4 separate regions of the Homo sapiens genome follow, and all the other regions are linked to region 2. Evidence: promoter capture Hi-C in 16 types of primary human blood cells and fetal thymus (Javierre and others, 2016). All regions are on one chromosome and are shown on one strand. Each heading gives the region's core, a stretch centred on a gene start or on the middle of the fragment in contact. The rest is flanking DNA. Distances are from core to core; before and after follow the strand shown. Region 1 overlaps LSG1 (large 60S subunit nuclear export GTPase 1). Region 2 holds the start of XXYLT1-AS2 (XXYLT1 antisense RNA 2). Region 3 holds the start of LINC01968 (long intergenic non-protein coding RNA 1968). Region 4 overlaps LINC01968 (long intergenic non-protein coding RNA 1968).

Region 1 (2,700 bases), core at 114-2,613, 490 kb before region 2:
CATAAGTCAATCCTAAGCCAAAAGAACAAAGCTGGAGGCATCACGCTACCTGACTTCAAACTATACTACAAGGCTACAGTAACCAAAACAGCATGGTACTGGTACCAAAACAGAGATATAGACCAATGGAACAGAACAGAGCCCTCAGAAATAATGCCACACATCTACAATTATCTGATCTTTGACAAACCTGACAAAAACAAGCAATGGGGAAAGGATTCCCTATTTAATATATGGTGCTGGGAAAACTGGCTAGCCATATGTAGAAAGCTGAAACTGGATCCCTCCCTTACACCTTACACAAAAATTAATTCACGATGGATTAAAGACTTACATGTTAGACCTAAAACCATAAAAACCCTAGAAGAAAACCTAGGCAATACCATTCAGGACACAGGCATGGGCAAGGACTTCATGTCTAAAACACCAAAAGCAATGGCAACAAAAGCCAAAATTGACAAATGGGATCTAATTAAACTAAAGAGCTTCTGCACAGCAAAAGAAACCACCATCAGAGTGAACAGGCAACCTACAGAATGGGAGAAAATTTTTGCAACCTACTCATCTGACAAAGGGCTAATATCCAGAATCTACAAAGAACTCCAACAAATTTACAAGAAAAAAACAACCCCATCAAAAAGCGGGTGAAGGATATGAACAGACACTTCTCAAAAGAAGACATTTATGCAGCCAAAAAACATGTGAAAAAATGCTCATCATCACTGGCCATCAGAGACATGCAAATCAAAACCACAATGAGATACCATCTCACACCAGTTAGAATGGCGATCATTAAAAAGTCAGGAAACAACAGGTGCTGGAGAGGATGTGGAGAAATAGGAAAACTTTTACACTGTTGGTGGGACTGTAAACTAGTTCAACCCTTGTGGAAGTCAGTGTGGCAATTCCTCAGGGATCTAGAACTAGAAATACCATTTGACCCAGCCATCCCATTACTGGGTATATACCCAAAGGATTATAAATCATGCTGCTATAAAGACACATGCACACGTATGTTTATTGCAGCACTATTCACAATAGCAAAGACTTGGAAACAACCCAAATGTCCAACAATGATAGACTGGATTAAGAAAATGTGGCACATATACACCATGGAATACTATGCAGCCATAAAAAATGATGAGTTCATGTCCTTTGTAGGGACGTGGATGAAGCTGGAAACCATCATTCTCAGCAAACTATTGCAAGGACAAAAAACCAAACACCGCATATTCTCACTCATAGGTGGGAATTGAACGATGAGAACACATGGATACAGGAACAGGAACATCACACGCCGGGGACTGTTGTGGGGTCGGGGGAGAGGGGAGGGATAACATTAGGAGATATACCTAATGCTAAATGACAAGTTAATGGGTGCAGCACACCAACATGGCACATGTATATATACGTAACAAACCTGCACATTGTGCACATGTACCCTAAAACTTAAAGTATAATAATAGTAAAATTAAAAAGAAAAAAAAGGCAACCTTAAAAAAAAAAAAAAACGCTTGGCATAGAGTGCTGCTAGTAAGTCCACAAAAGATCACAGAGCTGTATCCTTGGACCTAGCCTGTTCAACGATGTTATCAATGACACAAAAATTCACAGTTAGAAGGCAAGGAAATGCTAACTGCACACTCTAAAATGAACTCTACCTTGGTACTAAACCATTAACATATTTAAAAGGAACAGTACTCTCCTAAGTTGAGGTAAAACAGAACAAATATCTTTCCATATAAAGATGGGATGAGGTTTGCTTAGTAAGTTTTTTTTTTTTTTTTTTTGATATTTGAGGGATTCGGTTGCTCACAGGTTTAATGAGCCAAGAGCAAACAGCTTCTGAAAGGGGATGAACTAACAGAAACTGAATTAATGTGACTATCCTGATCACAAGAAATATGAATGCTGTGTATACGCCCTAGGCAAATACCACCTGGAATAACGTATTCAATTAGGTGTGGCTAGTTTTGCCTGTGGTCCTGACGCAAGAAGACAGGCACCCAGGATGGGTGTCCCGGAGCTGGTGTCTATGAGGAATATGAAAGCTGAAAATGCACAGCTGCAGGAGAGAACCGAAGGGACAAAGAGTCCTCAGATCAAAGGGTAGGGTGGCTGACTTCGTTTCACTGAATGGAAGAACTTTCTACATTTAGAGGTAAAAAGAAACGAGTTACCTGGTCTCAAGCATCCTGTCGCTTAAAATAGTCAAAGAGAAATATGCAACTTTGACAGGGAAGTGGAGGAAGAAACTCCTTCACATAGTTAGAGGTGAGAGCTTATATACTGAGCTCATGGAGGGGAGGGTGTTGTATTCATAACCCAGCTCAACACACACTCCACGGTCAACAGATGCCTGATAAACAGAGACGGGAGAAAAGGACAGGGAAAAAGACAGTACTTCCTAAGTCTCTCCATCTCTACGATTCTAATTACTAATTTCTTTTCATAGCTGTTGTTATTATTATTATTTTGAGACAGAGTTTCGCTCTTGTTGCCCAGGCTGGAGTGCACTGGCATGATCTCGGTTCACTACAACCTCCGCCTCCCAGGTTCAGCCGATTCTCCTGCCTCAGCCTCCCGAGTAGCTGGGATTACAGGCACCCGCCACCATGCCCGGCTAATGTTGTATTTTCAGTAGAGATGGGGTTTCTCCATGTTGGTAGGGCTGGTCTCGAACTCCCGACCTCAGGTGAT
Region 2 (2,700 bases), core at 139-2,638:
CCTGGAGGACAGGGTCTGGTTTCTCTCTACTGCATAGCCAAACCCTCGGCAAATGCCTGCCCAGTGAGCTTTCTATTCGGGCACAGAGTTTGGTCTATCCCAAGAGCACTCTTAGAGGCTACGCCTGCATTGCAAAGCCAAACACCACTCCGAGAGACTTTTCAGAGGAAAGAAGGGAATGTGATACCCACTTCTTAGCATTTTGAAGGCAGAACTCCATTTTTGTTTGTTTGGTTTCTTTTTTTAGAGACAGGGTCTCGCTATGTTGCCCAGGCTGGAGTGCATGGCTAGTCACAGGCGTAATCCCATTACTAATCAGCACAGGAGTTTTAACCTGCTTCATTTCCAGCCTGGGCTGCTTCATCCCTTCCTAGGCAACTTGGTGGTCCCCCGTTCCCAGGAGGTCACCAAGTTGATGCCAAACTTAGTGCAGACACCCACAGAATTCCTGGGCTTAAGTGACCCCCCTGCCTCAGCCTTCCAAGTAGCTGGAACTACAGGTGCAGGCTACCATGCCCAGCTGAAGGCAGAATATTAAGCTGAGGGAGAGGTGAGCCACTCAGTAAAATTTACAGTTCCTACAGCAAAAAGTCTATGTATCTTGTCCATGGGATATCTCTAAACAGCAGTACTGACTCAGTGTTGACACCGCAGGCATTTGCGTTTTCATTAAGTTTTATCTACCCTATCTCCCTCACGTTATATCTTCCTTGAAAGCAAGAGGCATGTCTTCTACTTCGTAATTCCTCATGGGACCAATCCTATGGCTCACACACACAATGAGCCAAATAAAAAACTGAGAATAGGCTGGGCATGGTGACTCACACCTGTAATCCCAGCACTTTGGGAAGCCCAGGCAGGTGGATCACCTGAGGTCAGGAGTTCGAGACCAGCCTGGCCAACATGATGAAACCCTGTCTCTACTAAAAATACAAAAATTAGCCAGGCATGGTGGTCAGCGCCTGTAATCTCAGCTACTTGGGAGGCTGAGGCAGGAGAATCGCTTGAACCCGGGAGGCGGAGGTTGCAGTGAGCCAAGATCACACCACTGCACTCCAGCCTGGGCGACAAGAAAGAAACTATGTCTCAAACAAACAAACTGAGAATAACAAACTTTCCCATGGACTGTCTTTACAAACAAAAACTGAATGTGAAAGTAACTTCTCTAAGACCAGTAATGGGACTACAGAGCCTGACTTAGCAGCTGGCCAGCACCGCGGAGGAAACGCCCTCTGACTACACATCTGTTCCTGCATTCACTCAACAAACATCGAAGTGCCTGGCATTGGTCTGCACGGCATAAACAGAACAGAAGGGCTGCCTCCCAGTCCCACCCCTTCCACGCATTCACTTCCTCACTCATTCTTTCAGGAGACACCTGTGTCAGGCACGACGTGGTGAACTTTTAAAAACGGATTCAGTAGTACCAAAATACTCATAATGTGCAGACAGACAAAAGAACTGGAAGGAGTCGTGTTTTCAGACACAGGAAGCTTTTCACGTGCTCCACCTGGACCTCATCTCTCAGCCTCACACTCCGATCTTCAGCAGCCCCCGCTATGCGCCCGAGTCTTGGGACGTCATCCCGGAGCTCCTAGCCTGCCCGGGAGGCAGAGCCATCAGGTAAGAGACGGTCACAATGACAGCAACACAATCCCGCTTGGGTTCTCTGTACAGAGTTTTCCTTTTAAAATACCTTTTCCACTGATGTTATTTAAAAATAACAACCTCAGAGTAGACTTCTGATCTCTACCACAGGGCAGGTACATCCCTCCCTTTTTATGAGTAATTCCTGCAGGGGTTATAGCACGGCCTCCAGGTCACACGGGCTACACAAAAACACTTAGCCCAGTTTTCTAACTCCCAGGGAGTGAAGGAATCACTATTTTAAAAGGTGGCAAGCTTTTTTCTCCTTTACTCAGATTTAACTCTGATAGAAACTGACAGGCTCAATCTTGGTTAATTTTTTTTTTTTAAACACGAGAACAAGGTTCAAGAAATTCATCTTCAGGTGTCAGAGAGACGAAAAGAACCCAATAGCTTTTATCTTCAAGTCCTACATTTATGCATCTCGTAATGAGGGTGATGGCTGGTTCCCTTACAACGGAGGGCTTCATGCCTAGTGAACAACGGACCTGAATTTATATCAGCCATAAAGCCTTCCAGACGTGACGGTCACGCTAACATCCTGACATGAGGCAATCTGCAGAGAGATGGAAAGTGTGCTTGGCTAGAGGTTAGTGCTGCCTCTCTCTATTTTCTTCCCTTGTACCAACTGATTTCAGACTGAGGAACTTGAAGACAGAGTGACACTATGAGCTCATATAACTCTCCTCAGCTCTAAACTCGGCCACAGCAGATGTGTTTTTAAGAAACTAATAGACTGAAAATGACATTTACAGACGAAATGCTGTGACGACTGAGATTCGTTTCAAAATAATCAGGGGAAGAGGAAAAGTGGGTGGGAGGAGACATAAAACAAAGATTGGCTAAGGGCTGATAGTTATTGAGGCTGCATGGATATTATAATATTGGGGCATCCAGAAATATTACATGATGCTTTCTACTTTTGTATATGTTGAAAGGTTTTCATAGTAAAAAGAAAAATCATACCAAGAGACCAGCAACATTTATCAAAGAAGGCTGACTTAGGTATAAGGATGGTCAAGATACACTGTTAAGTGAACAAAAAAAGATGTA
Region 3 (2,700 bases), core at 68-2,567, 440 kb before region 2:
TCAAGGTAGAAACTGCAATGCCTTTTATGACCTCACCTCAGAAGTCACACATCATCATTTCCACAATGTCACAGTGGTTATACAAGTGAGTCCTGTTCAGCGTGGGAGGAAATAACACAAGAGGCAAAGATCACTCGGGACCACCTTGTATATTGGCTACCACAGAACCCAACACAAGCAGTAAGTTAAAATCATGAAGCTCCTGACGTCAGAGGACATGGCTCTGCCATTTGTTAGGTAGGGATCCTGTTAAAGGCTCAGCTTCCTCATCTGGAAATGGAAATATAGGCCTTGCCTGGTTTGCTGTAATGGGTCGTGATGAGGACCAAACTACAAAGAGTGGTACAGATGTTAATTACAATGATTTTTCCTATGCCACCCATGGAAACAAAAATAGCAAGATAGAGAAGGCTAAATCCCAGTTTTTTTTGACTGCTATTCAGCAAAGCCTAGGAGACTTTCATGACACCTGGAGAGGCGGCCGTAGTGTATGTGTAAGAGTACCGGTTCCAGAGTGGGGCTCCCCGAGCTCAGCCCCACCACTTACCAACAGCGGACCTTGGGCCAGATGCTGAAGCCCTTTGTGCCTTGGTTTCCTGACCTATTACTGTGGAAATGATGACAGTACCCTCCTCATGGCATCGTGAGAATTAAATTAGCTAATTCAGGTGAAGCATTTAGAAGAGGACCTCCTGACACTTAATAACTGCTTGATATAAATAATAGCTTCTGCTACAGAGTGGCCATGAAGTCTGGACATGTAGATATTATATTATCATGCATCATAAGGTAATACCAACAAACCATTTATTATATATTCACCTGTTTCCAGATTTAATAGCCAACCTATATTAGTGCTCTGGTCCTAAATGTCCATGCAGTTTACTGTGCTCTTTGGTTGTATCTCTAATCCAGGTAGTTGATCTGGTGTGAGATTCCAACCTCGTGTGAGAGAGGAGAAGACCTTCATTACACTAATTCATGCTGGCCCAGCCTCCAGGCCACCCCAGATGTGAGGTGCTGTTAACACTGCTCTCAGGTGCATTGCTCAGCCCAGTGGGACCTTTTATGACACCAGCACACAGAGTAGAACAGATGTCCCTGTGCTAAGTTGATTTTGCAAACTGCAGTGGCCAGCCCCATAATGGCATAAAGATGTGCTTTACCCCAAAGGGGACAGGGTATTAGAAAACAGTTGAAAAGGCTTCTGAACAACATGTGAGGGTGCCCGGGAGAGGAATGCTCCAGATAGGGAAGGTCTGGGGCTGCAGAGATGTAGCCCATGTTAATAAGACACGTAACTCTGAGCACGTAAAACTCTTGAGCCTAGAAACTGGTAGCACTGATGGCGTTTAAATTACGTTATGAAACAACTCTTTGAAAATAATTTAACAGTTTCTATAAATACCCAGCTCTCTGGTTTGTGTAAAGGCCTTTTTTTTTTCTTTTCTTTCTTTCTTTTTTTTTTTTTTTTTGAGACAGAGTCTTGCTCTGTCACCCAGGCTGGAGTGCAATGGCATGATCTCGGCTCACTGCAACCTCTGCCTCCTGGGTTCAAGTGATTCTCCTATCTCAGCCTCCCAAGCAACTGAGATTACAGGCGCCTGCCACCACGCCCAACTAATTTTTTGTGTGGTTTTTTTTTTGTATTTTTAGTAGGGACGGGGTTTCGCCATGTTGGCCAGCCTGGTCTCGAACTCCTGACCTCAGGTGATCCATCCGCTTCGGCCTCCCAAAGTGGTGGGATCACAGGTGCAAGCCACCGTGCCCAGGCTGCTATCTTATTTTCAAGAATTTGACTCACGTCTTTCTGAAGAACATCTATCACTTAGAATGGCTTTCCCAAAATATGTTTTTAGAACACTAATCCCATGGAATGTTACGGGCATGGCATTAAAAAAGGTTTCAGTGATCAAATGAACTTGGGAAACACTGGGTCAAATATTCTTGAAGATGTTTCTTTTTAAAAGAAATTGTCAGAGCCTTTCATATGCTAATATGTCTCATGATTCTCTATGAGTGATAAAATCTATAGTTTCCCCTACATTTATTTAACCACAAACCCTGTTTTTGGAAGAATATATTTCAGAATAAGTATTCAGTGGAATCTAGATATAGGAAAGTGTAGACCCAATAATTGGAAACCTATTGTTTAGTCCGCCCAGTCCGCCTGGCACATCCACTTTTTCCGATAGCACCGTCTCTTCTTCCAAGAACTGCTCCCAGCTCATTCCTGTGGTCTCCAAGGGAACTGGTGTTTTCTTCTGTGTGCCATCCCTTGGCCAAAGTGACCCACCTCCCAGCCACTAAGTCCCTTCCCTGGAAATTTTGAATTTGGGACCAATAATTCTTTTTCTGGTGGTTGAGGCTGCGAGACACAAAACCTAGGCCGAACGCAGTGCTCACGCCTGTAATCCCAGCACTTTGGGAGGCCAAGGCAGGCAGATCACATGAGGTCAGGAGTTCAAGACCAGCCTGGCCAACATGGTGAAACCCCGTCTGTGCTAAAAATACAAAATTTAGCCACGTGTGGTGGTGTGCGCCTGTAATTCCAGCTACTCAGGAGGCTGAGGCAGAAGAATCATTTGAACATGGGAGGCGGAGGTTGCAGTGAGCCGAGATTGCACCACCGCACTCCAGCCTGGGTGACAGAGCAAGACTCCTTAGGCCACTGGGACAGTAGAAGATGTATTATCTAAA
Region 4 (2,700 bases), core at 26-2,525, 380 kb before region 2:
CTTAAAGTGGGGTTGAACACAGCACCTACCTGATAGCATTCTTGTGGCAAATCAATGAATTTGAATGCATATGAAAACAGGACCGGCCAGGTGCAGTGGCTCACGCCTGTAATCCCAGCACTTTGGGAGGCCAAGGCGGGTGGATCACCTGAGGTCAGGAGTTCGAGACCAGCCGGGCCAACATAGTGAACCCTTGTCTCTACTAAAAATACAAAAATTAGCCTGGAGTGGTGGTGTGCACCTGTAATCCCAGCTACTCGGGAGGCTGAGGCACGAACATCACTTGAACCTGGGAGGTGGAGGTTGCGGGGAGCCGAGATCGAGCCACTGCACTGCAGCTAGGGTGACAAAGCGAGACTCCATCTCAAAAAAAAAAAAAAAAGAAGGAAGCCAGACCACACACCATCAGCGTCTTCACAGGCCCCTTGGGATATCATTCATGATAAATATTTTATTTATTTATTTATTTGAGATGGCATCTCACTCTGCCGCCCAGGCTGGAGTGCAGTGGTGCGATCTCGGCTCACTGCAACCTCTGCTTCCTGGGTTCATGTGATTCTGCTGCCTCAGTCTCCCAAGTAGCTGGGATTACAGGTAGGTGCCACCACACCCGGTGAATTTTTTTTGTATTTTTTAGTAGAGATGGGGTTAGGCAGGCTAGTCTAGAACTCTTGACCTCAGGTGATCTGACTGCTTCAGCCTCCCAAAGTGCTGGGATTACAGGCGTGACCCACCAAGCCCGGCCAGGAAGGACCTGTTTCTAAGACCCACTTTAGAGGAGGGGAGACTCCTCTGGGCTGTGGGGGTAGGAGTTGGACCATAAGCCAGGGCATCTTGGCTTCTCAGGAAAGAACATGGGAGAGAGTTAATGTGTTGCCCATGCAGTCTTCCTTGACCCTCTGATTTTTCATCTTTTCCTGAAAGGCGTGGATTTATTTTATTTTATTTTATTTATTTTATTTTATTATTTTATTTTTTGAGACAGAGTCTCGCCCTGTTGCCCAGGCTGGAGTGCAATGGTGCCATCTTGGCTCACTGCAATCTCCACCTCCTGGGTTCAGGCGATTCTCCTGCCTCAGCCTTCTGAGTAGCTGGGATTACAGGTGTGTGCCACCACGCCTGGCTAATTTTTGTATTTTTAGTAGAGTCGGGGTTTCACCATGTTGGCTAGGCTGGTCTCGAACTCCTGACCTCTAGTGAGCCACCAGCCTCGGCCTCCCAAAGTGCTGGGATTACAGGCATGAGCCACCATGCCCAGCCCTGGATTTATATTTTTGACATATGTAGTGAGTTGCTTGAATGAATTATGCTTCGCTTGAGTCTTAATCATGTAGTAAAATTGACTTCCTCTTTGAGGTGATGTCAAAGAGTGTAGGATGAAGACGGGGAGCGTTCCAGTGCTACTCTGTTTGGGAAGGAGAGGAAGAAATGCTATTTTCAAAACTAGAAAGTCTTCTAAGTTGGCATGATCTAAGTGTATGTTCTCATCTTCTCCGTGCCTCTAGGCTTAGAAGCAAACCAAAATAAAGATGTTATCGCCAGTTCTTTGTTGCCCTTTCAAAAATATCACTGGCTGGGTTTGGGATGATATCATGAAGCCTCTTAGATCTTAATTTTGTTTTCTTTTTGCTTAGTTTTTTTTTCATTAAAAAGATGATTAAGGAAACATCCTCTATATGATAGGTCTATATAAGATTCCCTTTCAGTAAGGCTTTTGTACCAATTTAAAACATTTAGTAGAAGCCAATAGCAGTGGATGTATGGGGCTGAAATTGATCTAATGCTGTGCTATTTAATTTGATTATAGGTTAGATCTCATTACTGAAGGTTCAGCTTTGGCCTAGATTTCTTAGAACAGAAAAGATTTTGGACTCCAGACACTGGCCCACTCATATGAAGCAGTGTGCAATTCCGTGTTATTAAAGTGCAGGACCGCAAGAACACGGAGGCGTTTGTTATTTCAAATCCATTTAGGAATAAGGCGAGGGAAAAGGAAGGAAAGAGGAACGGAGGAAAGAAGAAAGGAGGAAAAGTTGGAAGAAAGGAAGGAAGGAGAGATTCTAGTGAATTTCTGTAGAATTTTTTTTTTCTTTTAAATTTTATTTTTATTTTTTTTGGAGACGGAGTCTCGCTCTGTATCCCAGGCTGGAGTGCAGTGGCGCGATCTTGGCTCATTGCAAGCTCGATCTCGGCTCGTTGCAAGCTCCGCCTCCCGGGTTCCCTCCCGGGTTCACGCCATTCTCCTGCCTCAGCCTCCCGAGTAGCTGGGACTACAGGCGCCCAGTAGAGATGGGGTTTCACCGTGTTGGCCAGGATGGTCTTGATCTCCTGACCTTGTGATCCACCCACCTCAGCCTCCCCAAGTGCTGGGATTACAGGCGTGAGCCACCGCGCCCGGCCAGAATTTATTTCTAAGGGCTTAACATACTGAACACTTTCTAGTATTCTCTGAAGGGAAGATTCTGGAAAATAAAATTAAGAAATGCTTCACTGAAACAAAGCCTCTTCAGGAATTCATCATGAATTTTCCTACCATCAATTTCCCCTTCTTTCTCTTGAGACAGTCTGTCACCTCATTGGCCCACACTTTGGTCCTGCAAATCCTGCTCCAAGGTCTCAAAGAAAAGTTTCAATTGAGCGATTGGCTCTCAGAGTTCTTACACTACACGCTTAGGTTTCTTTATTTTTTTTTTTAAATTG

What was found. The method cuts DNA at HindIII sites, captures the fragments that hold promoters and counts their contacts. A CHiCAGO score of 5 or more calls a contact.
Region 1: a fragment that was not itself captured here is called in contact with the fragment with the promoter of XXYLT1-AS2 in region 2 in 7 of 17 cell types (total B cells, M1 macrophages, erythroblasts and 4 more); the score reaches 7.2 in total B cells.
Region 3: a fragment that was not itself captured here is called in contact with the fragment with the promoter of XXYLT1-AS2 in region 2 in 1 of 17 cell types (naive CD4 T cells); the score reaches 6.2 in naive CD4 T cells.
Region 4: a contact is called between a fragment that was not itself captured here and the fragment with the promoter of XXYLT1-AS2 in region 2, in 2 of 17 cell types (neutrophils and naive B cells). The highest score is 6.1, in neutrophils.

What each region holds. Positions count from the first base shown.
Region 1 is chr3:194,655,688-194,658,387 of GRCh38, forward strand. The region is part of intron 7 of LSG1 (large 60S subunit nuclear export GTPase 1); the gene reads right to left. Among named protein-coding and RNA genes, the nearest start is that of LSG1, 15 kb to the right of the region's middle. The HindIII fragment of the contact is 4,490 bases long and covers 1-2,700 here.
Region 2 is chr3:195,146,483-195,149,182 of GRCh38, forward strand. XXYLT1-AS2 (XXYLT1 antisense RNA 2) reads left to right here and starts at 1,389. Exons shown (of 2, transcript NR_102711.1): 1 at 1,389-1,623. The region is part of intron 3 of XXYLT1 (xyloside xylosyltransferase 1); the gene reads right to left. It also overlaps the pseudogene RN7SL36P. RefSeq lists enhancers at 1,107-1,216, 1,457-1,506. The HindIII fragment of the contact is 4,550 bases long and covers 1-1,491 here.
Region 3 is chr3:194,708,359-194,711,058 of GRCh38, forward strand. It overlaps LINC01968 (long intergenic non-protein coding RNA 1968), which reads left to right and starts at 63. Exons shown (of 4, transcript NR_037891.1): 1 at 63-789. All of the region lies in intron 2 of LOC105374292 (a long non-coding RNA gene), which reads left to right. The HindIII fragment of the contact is 5,304 bases long and covers 1-2,700 here.
Region 4 is chr3:194,763,149-194,765,848 of GRCh38, forward strand. The region is part of intron 3 of LINC01968 (long intergenic non-protein coding RNA 1968); the gene reads left to right. LINC01972 (long intergenic non-protein coding RNA 1972) reads right to left here. Exons shown (of 3, transcript NR_146990.1): 3 at 2,090-2,462. The region is part of intron 2 of LOC105374292 (a long non-coding RNA gene); the gene reads left to right. Among named protein-coding and RNA genes, the nearest start is that of LINC01972, 4.2 kb to the right of the region's middle. The HindIII fragment of the contact is 6,875 bases long and covers 1-2,700 here.